7 separate regions of the Homo sapiens genome follow, and all the other regions are linked to region 1. The links are contacts of gene promoters, found by promoter capture Hi-C in blood cells and fetal thymus (Javierre and others, 2016). All regions are on one chromosome and are shown on one strand. The core of a region is centred on a gene start or on the middle of the fragment in contact, and the rest is flanking DNA. Distances in the headings are between cores, read along the strand shown. Region 1 holds the start of GPR151 (G protein-coupled receptor 151). Region 2 has its middle 61 kb from the start of PPP2R2B-IT1. Region 3 has its middle 38 kb from the start of PPP2R2B-IT1. Region 4 has its middle 14 kb from the start of PPP2R2B-IT1. Region 5 overlaps LARS1 (leucyl-tRNA synthetase 1). Region 6 overlaps LARS1 (leucyl-tRNA synthetase 1). Region 7 holds the start of RBM27 (RNA binding motif protein 27).

Evidence for each region. The method cuts DNA at HindIII sites, captures the fragments that hold promoters and counts their contacts. A CHiCAGO score of 5 or more calls a contact.
Region 2: a contact is called between a fragment that was not itself captured here and the fragment with the promoter of GPR151 in region 1, in 3 of 17 cell types (naive CD4 T cells, total CD4 T cells and naive CD8 T cells). The highest score is 6.7, in naive CD4 T cells.
Region 3: a fragment that was not itself captured here is called in contact with the fragment with the promoter of GPR151 in region 1 in 5 of 17 cell types (total CD8 T cells, total CD4 T cells, naive CD4 T cells and 2 more); the score reaches 10.2 in total CD8 T cells.
Region 4: a contact is called between a fragment that was not itself captured here and the fragment with the promoter of GPR151 in region 1, in 1 of 17 cell types (naive CD8 T cells). The highest score is 5.1, in naive CD8 T cells.
Region 5: a contact is called between a fragment that was not itself captured here and the fragment with the promoter of GPR151 in region 1, in 1 of 17 cell types (activated CD4 T cells). The highest score is 6.3, in activated CD4 T cells.
Region 6: a fragment that was not itself captured here is called in contact with the fragment with the promoter of GPR151 in region 1 in 1 of 17 cell types (total B cells); the score reaches 5.2 in total B cells.
Region 7: a contact is called between the fragment with the promoter of RBM27 here and the fragment with the promoter of GPR151 in region 1, in 9 of 17 cell types (activated CD4 T cells, monocytes, total CD8 T cells and 6 more). The highest score is 11.6, in activated CD4 T cells.

The regions. Positions count from the first base shown.
Region 1 is chr5:146,514,804-146,517,659 of GRCh38, forward strand. GPR151 (G protein-coupled receptor 151) reads right to left here and starts at 1,387. Exons shown (of 1, transcript NM_194251.3): 1 at 1-1,387. The coding sequence starts at 1,310. The coding sequence ends at 51. The HindIII fragment of the contact is 3,538 bases long and covers 1-1,898 here.
Region 2 is chr5:146,978,970-146,981,825 of GRCh38, forward strand. It overlaps a transcript of PPP2R2B not described here. Among named protein-coding and RNA genes, the nearest start is that of PPP2R2B-IT1, 61 kb to the left of the region's middle. The HindIII fragment of the contact is 8,576 bases long and covers 1-2,856 here.
Region 3 is chr5:146,956,522-146,959,377 of GRCh38, forward strand. It overlaps a transcript of PPP2R2B not described here. Among named protein-coding and RNA genes, the nearest start is that of PPP2R2B-IT1, 38 kb to the left of the region's middle. The HindIII fragment of the contact is 2,889 bases long and covers 1-2,785 here.
Region 4 is chr5:146,931,814-146,934,669 of GRCh38, forward strand. It overlaps a transcript of PPP2R2B not described here. Among named protein-coding and RNA genes, the nearest start is that of PPP2R2B-IT1, 14 kb to the left of the region's middle. The HindIII fragment of the contact is 641 bases long and covers 1,140-1,780 here.
Region 5 is chr5:146,132,365-146,135,220 of GRCh38, forward strand. It overlaps LARS1 (leucyl-tRNA synthetase 1), which reads right to left. Exons shown (of 32, transcript NM_020117.11): 23 at 534-717. Among named protein-coding and RNA genes, the nearest start is that of PLAC8L1, 28 kb to the left of the region's middle. RefSeq lists an enhancer at 795-964. The HindIII fragment of the contact is 2,354 bases long and covers 277-2,630 here.
Region 6 is chr5:146,152,978-146,155,833 of GRCh38, forward strand. It overlaps LARS1 (leucyl-tRNA synthetase 1), which reads right to left. Exons shown (of 32, transcript NM_020117.11): 11 at 916-1,003; 12 at 757-833; 13 at 197-250. Among named protein-coding and RNA genes, the nearest start is that of LARS1, 28 kb to the right of the region's middle. The HindIII fragment of the contact is 1,840 bases long and covers 564-2,403 here.
Region 7 is chr5:146,202,218-146,205,073 of GRCh38, forward strand. It overlaps RBM27 (RNA binding motif protein 27), which reads left to right and starts at 1,388. Exons shown (of 21, transcript NM_018989.2): 1 at 1,388-1,607. The coding sequence starts at 1,549. RBM27-POU4F3 (RBM27-POU4F3 readthrough) reads left to right here and starts at 1,388. Exons shown (of 20, transcript NM_001414499.1): 1 at 1,388-1,607. The coding sequence starts at 1,549. RefSeq lists enhancers at 824-973, 1,444-1,603. The HindIII fragment of the contact is 5,706 bases long and covers 1-2,856 here.

The sequences.
Region 1 (2,856 bases), core at 137-2,636:
AGTACAAGTAAATACAATAATCACAGTTTGTTTTGCTTTGAAACTTAAATCTATTTAACACCTTCCCCTGTCTCTTGATCTTCATGTTCCCAGGGGATAGGGTCATTGTCCTGTACAGAAGGGACTGTGTCCCTCTCATGCCAAAACTGCTCTACGTCAGGAAGGATGGGAATCTCTGCCTTCTCAGTTTTCCCTTTGCCAGAGGAGGGAGAGCTGGGTTTCTCTTTTTCTGGTATGGATGCTGGGGATTCTGGAGATGGAACCTTGTCAGGAAGACCCTCTGAGTTGCCAGCTGGTGTTTCCTGAGACTCTGAGACAGTTGGAGGTTTTTTGGTTATCATCCATTTCCATACACCTTTCAAGCCTTCCCTGAACTCTTCCGACATCACAAGAAAAATGAGAGGATTTGCTGAAGAGATGGAAAACATCAAGACTTGAGACAGGGCTATGAAACCTTGTGGTGGGGCCGGGCCTGCAGCCTTCAGATGCCATACCCACAGCCAAGCTACCCATTCGGGGAGCCACAAGAGAGCAGAGATGATGGCAATGCTCAGCAGCATCACTGTGACTTGCTTTGAGCGTATCTGGTTTCTAAGATTTTGAGTCTTAGTTCCTCGTTTTTTACATTGGTCATAAGCTCTCCAGAAATAAAAGCTGGCAAAAAATAATGGAAGGCCAAATGCCAGGAGTGGGTAGAGCTTACCAAACATCGACATAAACTCTTCAGCCACAGCTGGTACATCCACGAGGCACATTTCCACACCTTCATGATGCCTGATGGTGCTAAAGAACCATTCCGGCAGGGGTAACAGGCTAGCCACAGTCCAGATGGCCACCAGCACTGACCAGATGGTGTAGTTGTGGATACTCACTTGCTTGGCTGGGTCACTTGCATACATGAAGCATACTTTGGCCACCACAACGATTGTCAGGCTCTTGGCTGCCATGCATGTGTGGATAAACCAGTCAGAGGACTTGCAGACAAACCAGCCTAGATCCCAAACACTTTTGGAGTACGCCGTAGCTCGGATAGGTGCAGAAAACAGCAGGAGGGAGAGATCAGCCAGGCTGAGATTCAGAATCAGGGAGTGGATCATGGATGGCTTTCCTTTCCAAGCATTGTGAAGGAGGATGCCAATCACACACAGGTTTCCCACGAAGCCCACCAGGCAGACAGCCACCAAGAGAGCCGGGATGATGGTTCTCCAGTCCTGGGAATCAGAGGGCAGGTACCCTCCGGCAAAGTGGAGGTGAGCAAAGGACACATTCATGCTGCTGGAGTTAGAGTCTGCAAAGGCAGCTGCCAGCATCACTCTTCACAGCTTCTTACAGAAGTTAGATTCTTATTTAGGTTTGTCTTTCTGCCTGGGCTCTTTTGCATAGGAAATAAGTACTCTGTCGTCAGTGTCAAATGACACTTCTGGATCCTCCCCTTGCTTATTTCCTGAGAGCAGAATGTGGAAGGAGGCTGGCTGTTAAGCTCTTCTCTGCTGCATACAATATACTTGTGACTGTACCGACTGTCAGATAGCAGGAGCACATGGCTGCTGCTCATTAGCAAGTCTAATACCAAATCGTCAGCCCTGTGGAGTAATACAAATATACCCATAAATGATGAATGAAGAGAACATACATGTAAGTGGCATGTGTTCCTTGGGGGGTCACTAGAGCCAGTCAAGGCAATTATTTTCAACCAGCTCTTCCTAAAATCTTGACTGCTGTCTGTAATTTAGTGAACACTACATCTGAACCAAGTTCTTTGAACTTCACCTGATGGCCGGATCCAGTGGGTCTGGAGTAGGGCCCAAGAAATCATTTCTAACAAGTTCCCATGAGACTCTGATGCTGCAGGTTGGGAGACCACACTTTGAGAACCACTGTTTTAAACTGAGAACTAAAGCTTCCCCTACCCACTCTGCAGAGATGAGCTTCCTCTTCTTTTCCCCAACCCTTACAACCACCTCAGTTCCATCAACAGCTGGCTGAGTTCAAACACAGCTGGATAATGAAAACAAGTTAGAAGTCCTATTAAAAAAATCTAATTATGGATGACTCTCAGTTTATTCTATTACGAGTTTTTAGAAGCAATTTTACAGCTCCAAATTAGAACTGCTTTACATACTAATAAGACTTTTCAACAAGTGATGGTGATGAAGGCAACTGCATGATGAATTAAGCTGCTTTTCAGAGAGCATTCCTAGAGGATTTACCAAGACAAGAGAAATGAAAGAAAAATCAATATCTATGTGGAAGGCATTTAAGAGATTTTTTTAAATTATATTTTAAAGTTGGTAAAGATTTTGTGCTGGGCACACTGGCTCATGCCTGTAATCCCAGAATTTGGGGAGGTGGAGGCGGGAGGATTGCTTAAGGCCAGAAGTTCGAGACCAGCCTGGGCAACAAAGTGAGACCCCTGCCCCCACCTCTACCAAACAAACAAGAAAAAAAAAAAAAAGAAAAAAAAAAAAGTCAGCCATGATGGTGTACACCTGTAGTCCTAGCTACTTAAGAGACTGAGGTGAGAGGGTTGCTTAAGCCCAGGAGTTCGAGGTTGCAGTGAGCTATGACTGTGCTGCTGCACTCCAACCTGAGTGACAGAGTGATCCTCTGTCTCTAGAAATAAAAAAATTCTCAGATAAGATGATTTGGTAGAACTAGCCCTGAAATTTTAAAATAAGCAATGGATACTCTGGGGGGATTAGAGGAGCTCAAAATGTTCAGAGAATGGGGTTTGTGGGGTTGATATGAAGATACATGCTACATTGAGTGTGGCTAGTCAGAAAAGCTAAAGCATGATATACAGGAGAGTATGCTGCTGCATTCAGATCTCTGGATTCTGGTACTGTGCTTTCACGT
Region 2 (2,856 bases), core at 144-2,643, 460 kb after region 1:
ATGCATATCACCCTTCTACTCCAAACTTTCCAATAGTTCTCCATTTCACCTGGAGGAAAAGCTGATGTATTTAAGAATGGCTTCGTTTCTCTCTTTTCCCATTTCTACTTACTCTACTTCAGTAACATTGGTCTCCTTGCTATTTCTCTAATAGGACATATACGCTTCTACCTGAGTGCCTTTATACTTGCTGTTTCCTTGGCCTGAAACACATTTCTCTCAGTTAACTGCATGGCTTGCTTTTTTACCTTCTTAATGTTTTTGTTCATTTACATTTCTGAGAACATCTCTGGCCCTTCTATCTAATATTGCTTCTCTGTCTCAATACTTCCTTATTCATCATTTTCTGTTTTCTTTTTCTCCATAGAATTCATCATTTTATAAAATTTCACACAATTTTCTTGTTTACTTTCTGTTTCCTTCCACTAGAATATAAACTCTGTAATAGCAAAGAAATTTACTTATTTTGCTCACTGCTGTATCCTCAGTGCCTACAGTAGTACCTGCCACATAGTAGATGCTCAATAGATGCTCAATAAATAAAACTTAAATGAACCAATGAACCAATATTGAATCTTCCCACCTTGAAACACACACACACACACACACACACACACACACACACACACGCTAGTCCCTCTTTATCCACAGGGGATACGTTCCAAGACCCCCAGTAAATGCCTGAAACCACAGATAGTACTGAACCATATGTACAAATAACAAATGTAATGTTTTACCTCATACATACATACCAATGATAAAGTTTAATTTACAAATAAGGCATAGTCAGAGATTAACAACAATAACTCATAAAATAGAACAATTATAACAATATACTGTAATAAAAGTTATGTGAATGTGATCTCTGTCTCTCAAAATATCTTATTGTACCCTACTCACCTATTTCTCATTGCAATTGACCACAGATAACTGAAACTCCAGAGAGCAAAACCATGGCAGATAAAAGGAGAAAATGGTACGTGTGTGTATATATACAAACACATATGCAAACTTGTTTTATTTTTTAATATGGCTTGGTGGTTTTCATCTTCGAGATATCCACAAAATTGAATTTAATTTTTAAATTTAATTCCATAATTTATAGGTGAGATAGATTTATATTTATTGTTATGGAGAGATGCCAATGATATATTTTTATGAAAAAAAGAAATTCAGAACAGTATGTAGAACATGACTTCATTGTGATAAAAATAAAAATGTGTGCATGTATCTATGTTTCAGAGTAGACTTTCCACATCTCCCAACTAGATGTTGGGCATATACTGAAGATAAGGTAACAGAAGGAAATCTTGTAATTCAGGGAAGCAGCCAGAAGTTTTCTGAGCACAATGAAGCAGAGATGGTATTCAAAGAGAAAACCAATTAGCAGGATAAATGCTTCAGATTCTTTTTAATACTTGAACCTCTGTCTCCTTTACACCATCCCTCCCCTCCCTGCTAGTCTCATCCAGAAGGGAAATCTGATCACTGACAACCCACCCCAGAGATTAAGATTAGGAACAGAGCTGGAAGAAACAGCAACAAGGAAAAGGAAGGAGAGGAAGGAAGGCTCAAGGGAGAGAATGGAGGCTCCCATGCCTGAACTAAATGTGAGTTGAATCCCTGTTCCCTGTGGAACTAGATGGGCTGGGAAAGACTTGAACATTAAATAGATTAATCTCTCTTGTTTTTTTATGTATTCTAATTTTATGGTAATGTGGTCTCTGTTATATTGATTTACAGTATCTTTTGCATGTAATTTGAGGCTATATGTTGTCAATTTTTGGAATGTTTTATACATGCATAGGAGAATTGCTTTCTCTAATGTGTAGATACAAGATTTCATATACATACATGTTTGTTACATGACACTAGTTAATTGCATTATTTAAAAACTCTATATCCTTACTAGTTTTCTGTGTTGTAACCTATCAGTTTCTGAAAATGGAGGAGGACCTTTAAACATTTTTTTTAACCTAGATACTCAAATTCAAGAAACAATGAATCCTAAAAAGACTAAATAAAAAGATATCTACATCTAGAAAGGACTCAGTGAAACTTCAGAACATTTAAAATACTGTATTTCTTACTCATTTTTTTTTGTTTGTTTATTGTATGTCTCCCACTAGAATTTTAAGTCCCATAAGAGCAGGCAGGAAATTCTGCCTATTTTGTTCATAGTACCTGGCACATAGCAGGCACTCTACAAATATTTGCTGAAGTAATGGATTCAGTTCTTCCCCTGCTTCATTCAGGGTTCAGTTTTCTTCTTACTGAAGTTCATACTTCAATCCCTCTTTTAGGGAGAGTCTTGGGTGGTAAATTTTCTTAGTCCTCACAACTAGAAGTTTCTATTTTGTTTTTACTCTTCAATGAGAGTTTAGCTGGGTCAAGTCCTATATAATGAGTTATTTTTTTTTCTTCAGCAGTTTGAATCTATTACTTAAAGAATTTTTTTCTGGCTTTTATTGTTTTCGAGAATTCGGTTGTGAGTCTGATATTCTTTGGAAGATAACCAGTCTCCTATCTCTTGGAATTTTTTTGTTTAATTAAATATTTTTTCCTTTGAGATAATTGTGGGTTCATAAGCACTTGAAAGAAATAATACACAGAGAACACTTGTATCCTTTTCCCAACTTATCTCAATAGTAACTTCTTGCAAAACTATAATATACTATCACAACCAAATATTGACATTGATACAATAAAGACAGAGAACATTTCCATCCCCACAAGGATCCCTATGCTGCCCTTTTACATCTACTTTCCTCTCACTTAAACCCCCTCCTTAAGCCTTGGCAACTACTAATCTGTTCTCCAATCCTATAATTTTGTCTTTGCAAGAATGTTATATAA
Region 3 (2,856 bases), core at 91-2,590, 440 kb after region 1:
CATGCATATTTTAGAAACACTTCAAACTTAAGAGTACGCTCCATCTCTTTCCATAAGTCTCCCCATGCCAAACACACAGACCAGTCCATAGACTTGAGATTATAGCTCTTTCCAGAAGACAATATGCATATGTATGTATATATCTGTCTTAGCCCATCTGGTCTACTATAACAAAGTACCATAGACTGAGTGCCTTAAACAACAAACATTTACTTCTCACAGTTCTGGAGGCTGGAAGTCCAAGATCAAGGGGCCAGCAGATTTGGTGTCTGATGAGGACTCTCTTCCTGGTTTGCAGATGGCCATCTTTCACGTGTCCTTACATCTTTACATGGTGGAAAGAGCAAGGGAACTCTCTGGAGTCTCTCTTTTGAGGGCATTAATCCCATTTATTAGGATTCTATCTTCATGGCCTCATCACCTCCCAAAGGTCCATCTCTTAATACCATCGCTTGGGGGTTAAGATTTCAGCATATGAATTTTGGAATACATAAACATTCAGTCTATAGCCATATCCTAGAGTTTCTAATACATTTTGGAACTCAAATATTTCATTATTGGGAAGACATGAATCACCAAGTCTTTCTCCAAGTAAAACATATTGTCCAATATTTTACCACTTGCAGTAAATATGTGTGTTGCCATCTGGAGCTGTGAGCTTCAAAATGGAGGGGACATACACTACCCAGGTGAGTCTTATTTAAAAATGCAGATTTCTAGATTCTATGCCCAGCAATTCTGATTTAGATCAACAGTCAGACTTAGAAATCTACATTTGCATAAGCATCCCATGTAGTCTTGCTTCAGAAGCTCATAGTTCAGAATGAGGGACAGCCATGTAAACAAATGACTGCCATCCGATATGATAAATTGAATGACAGAAGTGTGTACCATGCATAGTGCTAGCTGCAAGAGGTGGGGGCACAGTAGGAATTTTACTTAGTCTAGAGAAGGATGTTAGAGGCTTCTTCAAATAGTGTATTTAAGTTGAGCCTTGAGAGAGAAGAGAAAATTCAGTAGGCACCAGTTGATGGGATATAAACAAATAAATACATCTTTATTTGCATGATTGTTGGAGATAAAGTTAGAGGGCAGTGGGAGCAGGTAGAGGCACCTGACACAAATAGTTATGTAGGTTGTACTCTACCCAGCTTTAGGGCACCAATCTCACCATAGTCATCATAGTTTTGTACATTTGTTGCAATAACGTTCTGACCTATGGTAACACTATATCTTGAATAAATGGTCTCAGTTTCTAAGTTGTGCAAAGACCAGTGGGCCAGTGCTAGGTCTAGAGGAGAGGAAGTGGGAAGACTATATCCCTTTTTCACAGTTTTCAGTCTCACGTATATCACTTCACAAGGAACACAGGGAATCCTGGAGGAAGAAAATACTATAATTACAGCCTATGGTGTTGGCTGCATGTCAAAAAGATGTACCTGCTCAAAATATAAAGTGAACCTAGGACTGACAGAAAAGGGTCGAATAATGAGGGAAGTAGGAAAATCTGAGTTGGAGGAGGATCATCAAACATCTATTTTTTTTTTTCTCCAAATGTTGCTGCCAAGACATTAATCAAACAACCCATATCCAGTGTTCCTCAGATACAGCAACGAGCAGACATTAATCGCAGATCTCCCGAAGGCCCCACCCTTTCAGATTCCAGGCACCATCTATGAAGAGAAGTACCTTTTATTTTCCCTTGAGGATGCTCAGCTGCCACTGTCTCTAGCCCTTATCTGGGTCCTTGGAGCCCTTTACTCTATTGAATTGTCTTGATTTTCACACCAAAGCCTTCAATCCCAGAGAGATCTTTCCATTCCATTTTTGAAGGAAATATCACTAGTAGATCTGCCTCCATGAGCACTTTCTGGGTATGGCATATTTACCTTCTAAGGAAAGATGAGGAATCCATAAAATTAGTGTTAGTCATCTTACCTCTGTAACCTCTTATTACTTTATTACCGTCACTACCAAAAATAATATTTATTCATCACTCTTCATGTGCTAATGAATTTTACTAACTCTGTATTGTCACGATTTTCATTTCATCCTCACAAAATTTCCATAATGTAGCCATTATTAAACCTCATTTAGAGAGAACATCAAGATTCAGAGAGGTTATGTAACTTATCCTGAATTACGTAGTTAATAAATACTAGAGCCAGGATATAAACTCAAGATTGTCCAACTTGAAAGGCCATAGTATAAATCAGTATATGATACTGCCTCTGCCCTCTTTCCTTCAGATCATGAGCTATATCATTACTATCTTCCGAGTGCCTTTGTGTGAACTTAGCTCTTTGTATGTATTAACCAATTTAAACCTCACAACAAACTTATGCAATAGGTTCTATTATTTCCATTTCAGAGATGAGAAAACTATGGCACAGAGAAATTAAATTACATGCCCAAGATCATCCATTTAGTAAGTAGTTGGAGGTGGGATTCAAACAATTCAAAAAAGCTGTTGAGATCTTGTTTATTTCACATTTGGTTCTTACATAGTAGCCTTAATCTAACCAAAGCCAATATTTTTAAGGTGTTTTAATAAATATCTAGGAAAATATACTGACATCCAGATTTACAATTTAGTTCAGAGGGAGAGTATAGTAGAAACCTGGAAATTCTAAGTCTAAAGTCTTTGCCTTCAAATATGATAGTCCTTGGAAACTAAATAGAATTTTATAGTAAATAATCAAAACCTGCCTACCTAACATGCCTTCTAGCATTAATGTTTTCATTCAATTGTTTAATGACCGATGTGTGTTTACTGAGTGCCTGAAGCTTCAGGGACTGGGGACTCTAAGGGGATTGAGACATAATCCCTGCCTTCAGAAAGCTTACAGTCTGGTA
Region 4 (2,856 bases), core at 210-2,709, 420 kb after region 1:
AAACACTTCTTAATTCTCTTAACAATTAATAAAGAAGTTACTTTCCTATATAATGTAGAAGACTAATTTAAAAGAGAATTGTGTGTGAGTGCACGCATGGCATATGTGTGGATGCATGCACATGTGTGAGTGAATGGATTCCCCCAACCTCCAGCAGCATATCCATGTCTGGTCATCAGCAATAATCTGAAATATTTCCTGTTATTCTTCCTGAAACACCAGGAGAATTTCAAACTCTTTGAACCTTCCTTAGTATGTTTGAACTGAATCGTTTAGATTGGCCCACCCATTCATTCAGTAACTATTTACAAACATCACTCCCTTTTATTTGTTTGTTTTCCTTAAATTAGGTCAAAGTCATCTCCAGGGAACTGGGATTCTTGAATTCAAGGCCTATTGTATTTAAGGTTTATCAAGGTATCAGCCTGTCCCTCAGCTTTCTATCCTGGTTTGAAAGGATAATTTGAATTACCAAAGATATTAAATTGATATGGTTTGGCTGTGTCCCCACCCAAATCTCATCTTGAATGGTAGTTCCCATAATCCCCACATGTCGTGGGAGGGTCCCAGTGGGAGGTAATTAAATCATGGGTGTGGTTACCCCTATACTGCTGTTCTTGTGATAGTGAGTTCTCAGGAGGTCTCATGGTTTTAAAAGGAGCTTTTCCCCTTTTTGCTTGGCACTTTTTCTTGTCTGCTGCCACGTAAGACAGGCCTTTGCTTCTCCTTTGCCTTCTGCCATGACTGTGAGGCCTCCCCAGCCATGTGGAACTGTGAGTCCACTAAACTTCTTTCCTTTATAAATTATATTTCCTTTACAAAGTGTTGGGTATGTCTTTATTAGCAGCATGAGAACAGACTAACAAACAGATCTTTGGACAATAGATTCCATGAAGAGACTGAAGACTCTAGTGGCCCAGGTGGCTGAATCTTCTCCTAGCTTTCTTCTTCTTTATATACATCCCATTTGTGATCATGATAAACAAGGTCAAAGAGCAGTGAGAAAAGGAAAACTAACCACCTAGTATATGCAGAGAGATATCAAATGCTGAAGTAGATCAAGAAGACTTCCTTGAGCAAGGGGGCAGAGGAGAAAGCTATATCTAGCAGAGATATTACAGCTGTGGAGGTATCAAAGAAGCTTTGAGAATCTGGAAGGACAGCCCAGGAAACTGTTTCTTTACCTGTACCAGCACTAAGCATGCTAAAATATTCACGTGGGAATTATATCATATGCTGTTTTAATTAAAGCTGGTTGTATTCAACCTTGGAATTGTAACTAATTCTGTTTGCTCTTTGAGAAATTCTTATATATATTTTTAATATCCTTTGCTTCAGCAGCTGAGATTTCAAGTAACAGGGATTGGAAAATAATCCCATGTGTTTCCAACCAGATGAATTTTTTGGTTGTAAAGTTATTTCCTAAGATTTTTTTTCAATTAACATATTAGATCCTTGAGGAATATCCTGGATAAACGCCCAAGTTGCTCTTTGGTTAAGTAGAATAGCACAAAGTCTGTATCCAGGGAACCCAATCCTCTGATTACAGAGCAGGTCAAAGCTGCACCTTAATTATTTCTTTAAAAAATCAAAAGATTTTGAAAATGATTATTAGGGAGTTTTTATTCCCATTCTCTCTCAGATAAGTATTTTGTCTATGACACCTGATTCTTGAGAAAAAAACAAGAGAAAAAAATAAAACCTATTATCAACCACACTTGGGATACCATTAAGGGCCACCTCACTTTATTCTGAAATTTCTACTTCAGGGAGATTACCAAGCTTCCAGAGAGAAGCAAAATGAGACCCATTTAAGAACATGTGACCTATCGTGACAAACGGAAGTTCTTTTTTTTTTTTAAGTTTTTTTTTTCTTTTATTATTATACTTTAAGTTTTAGGGTACATGTGCACATTGTGCAGGTTCGTTACATATGTATACATGTGCCATGCTGGTGCACTGCACCCACTAACTTGTCATCTAGCATTAGGTGTATCTCCCAATGCTATCCCTCCCCCTCCCCCCACCCCACAACAGTCCCCAGAGTGTGATGTTCCCCTTCCTGTGTCCATGTGGTCTCATTGTTCAATTCCCACCTATGAGTGAGAACATGCGGTGTTTGGTTTTTTGTTCTTGTGATAGTTTACTGAGAATGATGATTTCCAATTTCATCCATGTCACTACAAAGGACATGAACTCATCGTTTTTTATGGCTGCATAGTATTCCATGGTGTATATGTGCCACATTTTCTTAATCAAGTCTATCATTCTTGGACATTTGGGTTGGTTCCAAGTCTTTGCTATTGTGAATAATGCTGCAATAAATATATGTGTGCATGTGTCTTTATAGCAGCATGATTTACAGTCATTTGGGTATATACCCAGTAATGGGATGGCTGGGTCAAATGGTATTTCTAGTTCTAGATCCCTGAGGAATCGCCACACTGACTTCCACAATGGTTGAACTAGTTTACAGTCCCACCAACAGTGTAAAAGTGTTCCTATTTCTCCACATCCTCTCCAGCACCTGTTGTTTCCTGACTTTTTAATGATTGCCATTCTAACTGGTGTGAGATGATATCTCATTGTGGTTTTGATTTGCATTTCTCTGATGGCCAGTGATGATAAGCATTTTTTCATGTGTTTTTTGGCTGCATAAATGTCTTCTTTTGAGAAGTGTCTGTTCATGTCCTTCGCCCACTTTTTGATGGGGTTGGACAAACGGAAGTTCTGAGGTGTCCTAGAGTTAGAAGAGGTAGTTTTTCATAAGAAAAAAAAAAAAAAAAAAAAAAAAAAAAAGAACGTGTTTGGTGCCTGGGGAGACTTTGGCCTCAACAAATATACCTGTAGCTTTTC
Region 5 (2,856 bases), core at 204-2,703, 380 kb before region 1:
TTATTGTGCTTAGAAACTGGGTGTTTGTCTCTCTTGCTAGACAATAAGGATCAGGTCTCATTCATCTTTATAATACCAGTGCGTAGGATGACTCCAAAGATATTTATCCTTTTCTTTTAATCTACTTTTCCTTTAACCATTTTGCCCTACTCGAAAACAAGACAACATGGTAAAATGGTTATGAGAACAGACTTTCAAGACAGACAGAAGCAAGTTCATATCCCAAGTTTGCAACTACTAGCTTTAAGGCATTTAAGGAAATACTTAATTGTTCTAAGCTTCAGTTTCTTTATTTATAAAATAGAGCTAATAATATCTGTATTAAATAAGGTTGCTTTGAGGTTAAAGTCAGATAATGGACACAAAATACTTAGCATAGTACCCGGCACAAGTAAGCCTTCAATGAACACTAGCTATTATTATCATTAGTTTATTTTATTAAAAAAAAAAAAGAAAAGAAAAGAAAAAGAAAACAAAAATGCACCAGGACTAAGTAACTCTAAAACACAAAATGATTGGGATCTACAGATTACCTGGCAAAAACTCTATCATTGAAAGTGCTGGCAGGACCACTTCTTAGGCTGTCCCAGTTGGCAACCATTTCTTTCACCCACTCTACCCAGGTGTACAGACGGAGAATACCTGCATCTGCCATGGCTTCCACAAAGTTGGCATCTTCTACAGTGTCACCAGCATCAGCCAGAGCCAAACGCATTCCTGGAAGAAGAAAAAAAAATTCAATGCATTAAAAATATGGTTACTGAGTATCAACTGTGTCCTATGTGTCCAGTTGGATACCTTGCAAAGCCCATATATAAATTAACAAATGCTTTAAAGGACTGTCCTGGATCAACAACAAAAATTAAAATCACCAAAAAGTAGCATCCCTAACCGTGATGTTAAAATATTCGAACCATCCATATTGATTTGCATCCACTAAGCACCAATATGTGTTTCTTCTCAGGCATGTTGAGTTAATGAGATAAAGTGATCTTTAATGAGGCAGAGATAGAAAATGATAAAGTGGGGATAAAGACACACCTTTCATTGTGGTTTTCTTATCAACATTTCAGCCTCATTTAGAGGTAGCAAAATACATTTTAATACATGAGAATACACACTGGTGCCTTATGTGTACAAATGCATATGAATTTTTCTCAGTTTTGAAACTAGGTTCTTACAAGTTTATCACTAATAAAACTTTACTTTTTCAATTCTCATCTCTCAGTACTACCAAAATCTTCCATTCTAAAATATTGAAAAAAAGAACCTAAATGTCCATCAATTAAACTGTAGGATATCCCTACAATGGAACACTATAGGGTTGCAAAAAAAAAAAAAAAAAAAAGAGGGAACTCATTATGTAGTTATTTCCGTCTTTAGCTTTGGTGTCCAATCAAAGCATTCAGGTTCTGCACTTTGCCTTTTCCACTTAACAGTTCATATTTGTATACTAACCCATACATACACATATCTATGTTTTTTGTTTGTTTGTTTGAGATGGAGTTTCGCTCTTGTTGCCCAAGATAGAATGCAATGGCGCGATCTCGGCTCAGTGCAACCTCCGCCTCTTGGATTCAAGCAATTCTACTGCCTCAGCCTCCTGAGTAGCTGGGATTACAGGCATGCGCCACCACGCCCGGCTAATTTTGTACTTTTAATAGAGACAGGGTTTCTCCATGTTGGTCAGGCTGGTCTGAAACTCCCGATCTCAGGTAAACTGCCCACCTCAGCCTCCCAAAGTGCTGGGATTACAAGTGTGAGCCACCACACCCAGCTGTTTAGTTTTATATCTACATATCTATACACAAAATAAAAATCATGAGCTCATACTTTTATCACCAAATCCAATCTGACCCCATAGGGCTCATTCTAGCATTTTCTCTTTACTTATTTATAGCTTCTTTTTCTGATAGTGAGCTCTGTGAGGCAGAGGTTCTCATTATCTACCTGTTTACTTATTTATTCAATCCTAATATATACATAAAGTGGTTTCATAATTGCTTATATATCTTGTAAGAAACAGACTAACTATATTATTTGGATACAGTTCCGTCTTTGGCTTTGGTGTCCAGTCAAAATACTGAGAACACAAACTGAGTTAGCCATGACCAATAAAAAGAAGTACCATGATGACCAATGACTAATTATATAAGAAATGAATGGTTCTTTCAGGATAGTGCATTTCTTCTCTTGACACGATAATAATAAAATGTAATAGGACTGAGGCCAGACAAAAAAACAATTTTCTGAAAAAATCAATGTTCCCAGGTTCAAGACACATTTAGGAATACCAAATACAGGCCAGGCATGGTGGCTCATGCCTATAATCCCAGCACTTTGGAAGGCCAAGGAGGGTGGATCACTTGAGGCCAAGAGTTCAAGACCAGCCTGGCCAACAAGGCAAAACCCCGTCTCTACTAGAAATACAAAAATTAGCCAAGCGTGCAGGCACATGCCTGTAATCCCAGCTATTTGAGAGGCTGAGGCACAAGAATCGCTTGAACCCTGGAGATGGAGGTTGCAGTGAGCCAAGATCATGCCACTGTACTCCAGCCTGGGTGACAGAGCAAGACTCTGTCTCAGTTAATAAGAATGGAATACCAAATACAGAGGAAATATCTTGGAAAAGCTTCCTACATACTCAACATTTTTTTTTGAGACAGAGTTTCACTCTTGTTGCCTAAGCTGGAGTGCAATGCAATCTCAGCCCACTGCAACCTCCGCCTCCCGGGTTCAAGCGATTCTCCTGCCTCAGCCTCCCAAAGTAGCCTGGATTACAGGCACCTGCCACCACACCCAGCTAATTTTTTTTTTTTTTTTTGTATTTTTAGTTGAGACAGGATTTCACCATGT
Region 6 (2,856 bases), core at 234-2,733, 360 kb before region 1:
GGTAAGAAAATGCTTGTTAGTTTTCCTTTTGCTCTTATCTACCATAGCAGGTATCAAATTAAAGTGAGTAAATCCTTAAGCAAACTCTCTTTTTCATACTCCACCAATTAATTTTGTTATAAGGAAAACATGTTAGCTCTTCTTTTTCTCTGATAAAGAGATGGATGTGAATATTCTGAATTATCTATGTACTCACCGGCTCAAATGGCAAGACCATGTCATCTCTAATTCCATATTTTGCTCGTAAGGCCTACAGAAAAATTTGCAAGTTAACACTAATGATCAACACTTTACTGGGAGAATCATTGAGAGAAGCAATCTCCAAAGTTTCTTAAAAGTTTCTTTAAAGTTTCTATTTGTTCTCCTCTCCATAGAGAGCAATTTTCTAACTTTGCCAAATATCTCAAAAGGGATCTGTAACCTTCAAAAATTTAATAGCTAAAGTTATAGTGAATAGCCTAAATGAAACCACACAACCAAAAGCAAAAATGTACATAGACATACACATATCACTTAAATTGAGGTTCATATGCCAGATTTCAATGAAAATGTGAATATCAGAAAGCTTTTTCAAAATTCTGTGAACATATTTAAAATTCAAACCACAGAAAATATATTAACATCAAGAAACAAGTTAGAGATAGCAGTTTAAAGATAAATGCATAGCTTTTTAGCCTAGTCCCACAGCGTAGTTCAGCAGCACCTAAGCAATGAGATGGTGAGGACGAAATACAAACATGAAACTCAGATACTTACTTGCTTTTTCTTCAAGTCTCTGAGGGCAGCAATATCATCAGGGGAGTCGGAAGGAACACTTGTAACCACACCAGTGCCTTAGAAAACAAAGTGTGGAATTAATAACTAGAACCAAAATGTGTTTATCAAAATATTTCTAGAAATAAATAAACTCTTTACCTTTATCCTCCTTAATAGTTAGCATTGGGAGAACATAGATCACCTTGTATGATGTTAAAGGTGCAGAAAGTGATGCACCAAGAATTTCCTGCATAAGAAAAAAATCAATATAAAAGGTGAAGTAATTCATTGTGACCATTAGAATTAAAACTATGTTAATATTTTAAGCCCTGAGAAGCTAGTAATCAAAAATATATGGAAATAAATTCAAGAGCTATATTGTACAATATGGTGACTATAGGAAATAACAATGTATTTTATACTTGAAAATTGCTGTGTAGATTTTTTTAAGAGACAGAGCCTTGCTATGTTGCCAAGGCTAGAGTGTAGAGGCTATTCACAGGTGCTATCATAGCATTCTACAGGCTCAAGCTCCTGGGCTCAGGCAAGCCTCCTGAGGTCCCAGCCTCCCAAGTAGCTGGCTCTACAGGTGCATACCACTGCACCTGATTTAAATTTTAACTCTTCTCACCACAGAAAATGGTAAGTACGTAAGGTATAAATTTGTTAATTACCTCAATTTAGCCATTTCACAATGTATATATATTTCAAAACATATTGCGTACCATAAATACAATTTCTGTCAATTAAAAAATGAATACAGGCTGAGCGCGGTGGCTAACGCCTGTAAACCCAGCACTTTGGGATGCTGAGGCAGGCAGATTGCCTGAGCTTAGGAGTTCGCGACCAGCCTGGGCAACATGGTGAAACCCCGTCTCTACTAAAATACAAAAAATTAGCCAGGCGTGGTGGCATGCGCCTGTAGTCCCAGCTATTTGGAAGGCTGAGGCGGGAGAATTGCTTGAACCCGAGAGGTGGAGGTTGTAGTGAGCCAAGATCGTGCCACTGCACTCCAGCCTGGGTGACAGAGGGAGACCCCGTCTCAAAAAATAAAGAAAAGAATATAAATAAAATACATATGAAGTAAAACAAAACACATTATTTTATACCTACTAGAGGAAAAATAATTTTTTTTTTGAGATGGAGTTCTGCTCTTGTTACTCAAGCTGGAGTGCAATGGCATGATCTCGGCTCACTGCAACCTCCGCCTCCCAGGTTCCAGCGATTCCTGCCTCAGCCTCCCATGTAGCTGGGATTACAGGCATGCACCACCACGCCTGGCTAATTTCTGTATTTTTAGTAGAGACAGGGTTTCACCATGTTGGCCAGGCTGGTCTTGAACTCCTGACCCCAGGTGATCCACGCACCTCTGCCTCCCAAAGTGCTGGCATTACAGGCATGAGCCACCGTGCCCGTCCCGGAAAAATAATTTTTAATAATTATAATAACTAAATCTGTCAATATTATGACATGAGTACACTAATACATTGTTTGTGACATTGTACTCCTTGAAGAAAATATAGGAATCCACAGCAAAAGCCACAAAATGTTCATGTAACTCAGACTCAACAACAACTAATTATTTTTTCTTAAACAAGTCTACCCAATGCTGAGTTAATTATACTAGGAAAGCCTGGAAACAACTAAAGCTTTCAATGATAGAAAAAATGATTTAACAAAATATGTTACAAGAACAAGAATGGGTACTATACATCTATTTAAAATAGTAGTTATGAAGACAAAGTAAAAGGATAGTTCTAATTTCACTTGAAAAAATCCAAAAGATTAAGCAATTTTAGACCCAAATTCTCAGATGGCAACAAAGAATTTGCAGCTTCTTGCTCTAGCTAAGGAACACACTTTTCCTTTCCACATAATTCCCACCCACCCCTCTTTATTCATATATGTACTTATAACCTGCCTTTATAGAATTTGCAGTCATATGGATGACAGCTAAATATTATAACCATTTTAAATGTTGAAACTATTTTGCAATTTATAACATCCATGTCCCTCACGCCAGAATTTGCTCAAATTAACAGGGAGAAAAGTTGCATTAAGAATAGGAAAACATGTATGTCCCTAATACTGTTCCCAAGA
Region 7 (2,856 bases), core at 138-2,637, 310 kb before region 1:
AGGTGTGAGGCACCGCGCCCAGCCTGGCCTACATTTTTAAATGGAGAAAAAAATGAAAAGATAATATTTCATGGTATGTGAAAATTATATAAATTTAAAATTTTATATAATTTTAATAAATGTTTGTAATACAGCCACAATCATTCCATTTACATATTGTCCCTGGTTAATTTTAAGCCAAGACATTGTATGACGAGTAGTTGCCATAGATACCTCAAGGCTCACAAAACCAAAATATTTAGTATCTGATCCTTTGCAGAAGTTTGCCTATACCTGTTCTATGTATATATAGGATGTCTGTTTATTTGAGGTTGATCCATTTCTTTTATATGAGGTGCGTGCTCATTAGGTATTTTTCAAAATGTTATTACAATGCATAACCCCATAAACTGTTCATCATCTTAAGAGGAGAAGCTCTGTTTTGCTCAGCATTGGACTCCTAGTGCCTTACTCAGTGCTGGCAATTGCAGGGACTCAGTATATGTTATTGGGTAAACATTTTAACATCAGTGCTAAATCAGTGATTTCAAAACTCCAGAAAGAATTTCTCACCTACTAGAAAGTAAGTTGACTATTTCAGTAGTTTCTAATTTGTCTTAAAAATTTTTTTGTAATCCTTCTTTGCTGATTAAAATTCTCCCTTCCCGTCCCCCAACCACTGAATTTTAGATATACAATGAAAAGATAATTAAAAACAAACTATTGGAGTCATTTTTCTTCCTAAATAAAGCAACATTTATTAATAGTACTAGCAAAATTGAAATGGCCTCAGCCTTTTACATCCGTGCGCCACGTTTTAAAAATGACGATTACTGGATTCCAAGGCATGGTTGTCAGAAACATTCTGCGTAATTAAAGCAGAGCAGCAGAAAATACAAACGTGAGTGCCAATCAACATGAGTGTGTAAAGAAAAAAAGTAAAATTTTGCATTCTGTGCAATGTGTCGAACGTGAACGTATTGCACGTTGTGTTGCAGATTTACTACAGCTGAGTCATTTCGGGACACGAGTGTGTGTTTCCAAGAAAAACGAGAGGAAGGAACCAGGCTGAGGGGCTCGCCGGGTTCCCCCAGGCACTCCCAGCAGCAGACACCGGTATTCCGCGGCGGGCGGCGGCGTGGTCAAAAAAAGGCGCCGCTGCCCCTTTAAGAGGCAAAGCACCTTTTCCAAGATACCATCTTGCACCAGGAGTTCACTTAAGCTCTCCACCTACCTTGCTATATCTCTCCTCCCTGACTGGGTACCGCCTGCCGGCGGGGCGAGCGAGCCTTTTCATTGGTCTTGCCCTCAGGGCCCCCTCTCTCTTACTGGTTCTCAGGCCTGCCACTCGGCACTGTCTCCCGCCCACCTCAGCCTTCGGGCTAGGTTGAGTGAGGGCTCTTGGGTTAGTTCCTGTTAGGCCCCGGCCGGGGGAGTAGGTTGAAGTCTCCTAAGATGCCCGGTGGGCTGGGGCACCGGGAGCTGTGAAGGGAACGTGAGGGGGCGGCGTAGTGGAGACCCACGGCAGGCCTGAAGAAGAGCGGCGGCCGAGCCCGCCTTCCCTGCACCATGCTCATAGAGGATGTGGATGCCCTCAAGTCCTGGCTGGCCAAGTTACTGGAGCCGATGTGAGTGAGCCGGGCTGGGCCGGGGCCGGCGAACGTGGGCGTTGGGGGCTCGCGGGGGCGTGGGGGAGGGGAGGTGGCGTGGGGGGCGGCGCTGAGGGGCCGCGGCCGGGAGGTCCCGGCGACGCCTTCCCTGTAGTACTATCACCATTGTGGTGGGGGTGAGGGTGGGAGAGGAGCGCTGGGGACGGAGAGGCGCCGTGAATATGGGGACTGGGGGGGCAGGCAAGGACAGCGAAGGCTTTTCAAACGCAAATATCGGGGTGCTGGAAGGGGTAGCAGGGGCCGTGAGGGAATTTAAAACATTGCTGTTTGAGAACTGAGAGAGAGGTAACGGGGCTCTTGAGGGATTTTTAAAATGTGAATATTGAGATGTCGAAGGGAATAGCAGAATATCAAGGGTTTGATAAACATTATTATTCCGGGACTGAAAGGTCTAGAAGCAAAATATCGAGGGCATTTTCGAAATATGAGGGCAGAAGCGGATAGCAGGGACATTGAAACTGTATAGCGATTATTGGTAAGTTCTGAGGGATCAAGAATATTGAAGGATTTGAAAAATACTATGGAGTAGATGAAAAGGATGTGTGGGCATTGAAGGGTTTTAGAAATTATTGGGGAGGTGATAAGTGTGATAGCAAGGATATTAAGGGATTTTAAAGTATTATTGAGGGCTTGATAGTGCTAGGGGAACTGATGACTTTTAGATACATAGAGGTTGGAAAAAAGAGGTTTCTGTAAGTTTAGTTGAAGGTTGAAAGGGCTACACTGGTATGCAGCATTAATTGGTGGAGGAGTATACCTAACAGTATGTAGGGATTTTTAGATACAGGTGGTGTTGGAGGAATAAAAGGAGCGGTAGAAAGAATAAGAGATTTGTAAGTATTCTTGTGCCATTGAGAGGACAGTTTTGTAAATGTTTTTGTAAGATTGAGAGGACACCTGAAGATAATTGGGGTGTAGTATGAGGGACCGAAAAGAATGAGAGACCTGTCTTTTAAAAATATTTTGGGTGGTGTTAGTAGAAATGTTATTGGGAGGCTTGAAAGAGGTAACAGATGTATCAACATTTTGTTTTATAACCTTTTTTTTTTGAAACAATGTCTCGCTGTGTCTCCCAGGCTGGAGTGCAGTGGCTGGATTTCGGCTCACTGCAACCTCCGCCTCCCGGGTTCAAGCGATTCTCCTGCCTCAGCCTCCCGAGTAGCTGGAACTACCGGCGCGCGCCACCACGCCCAGCTAATTTTTGTAT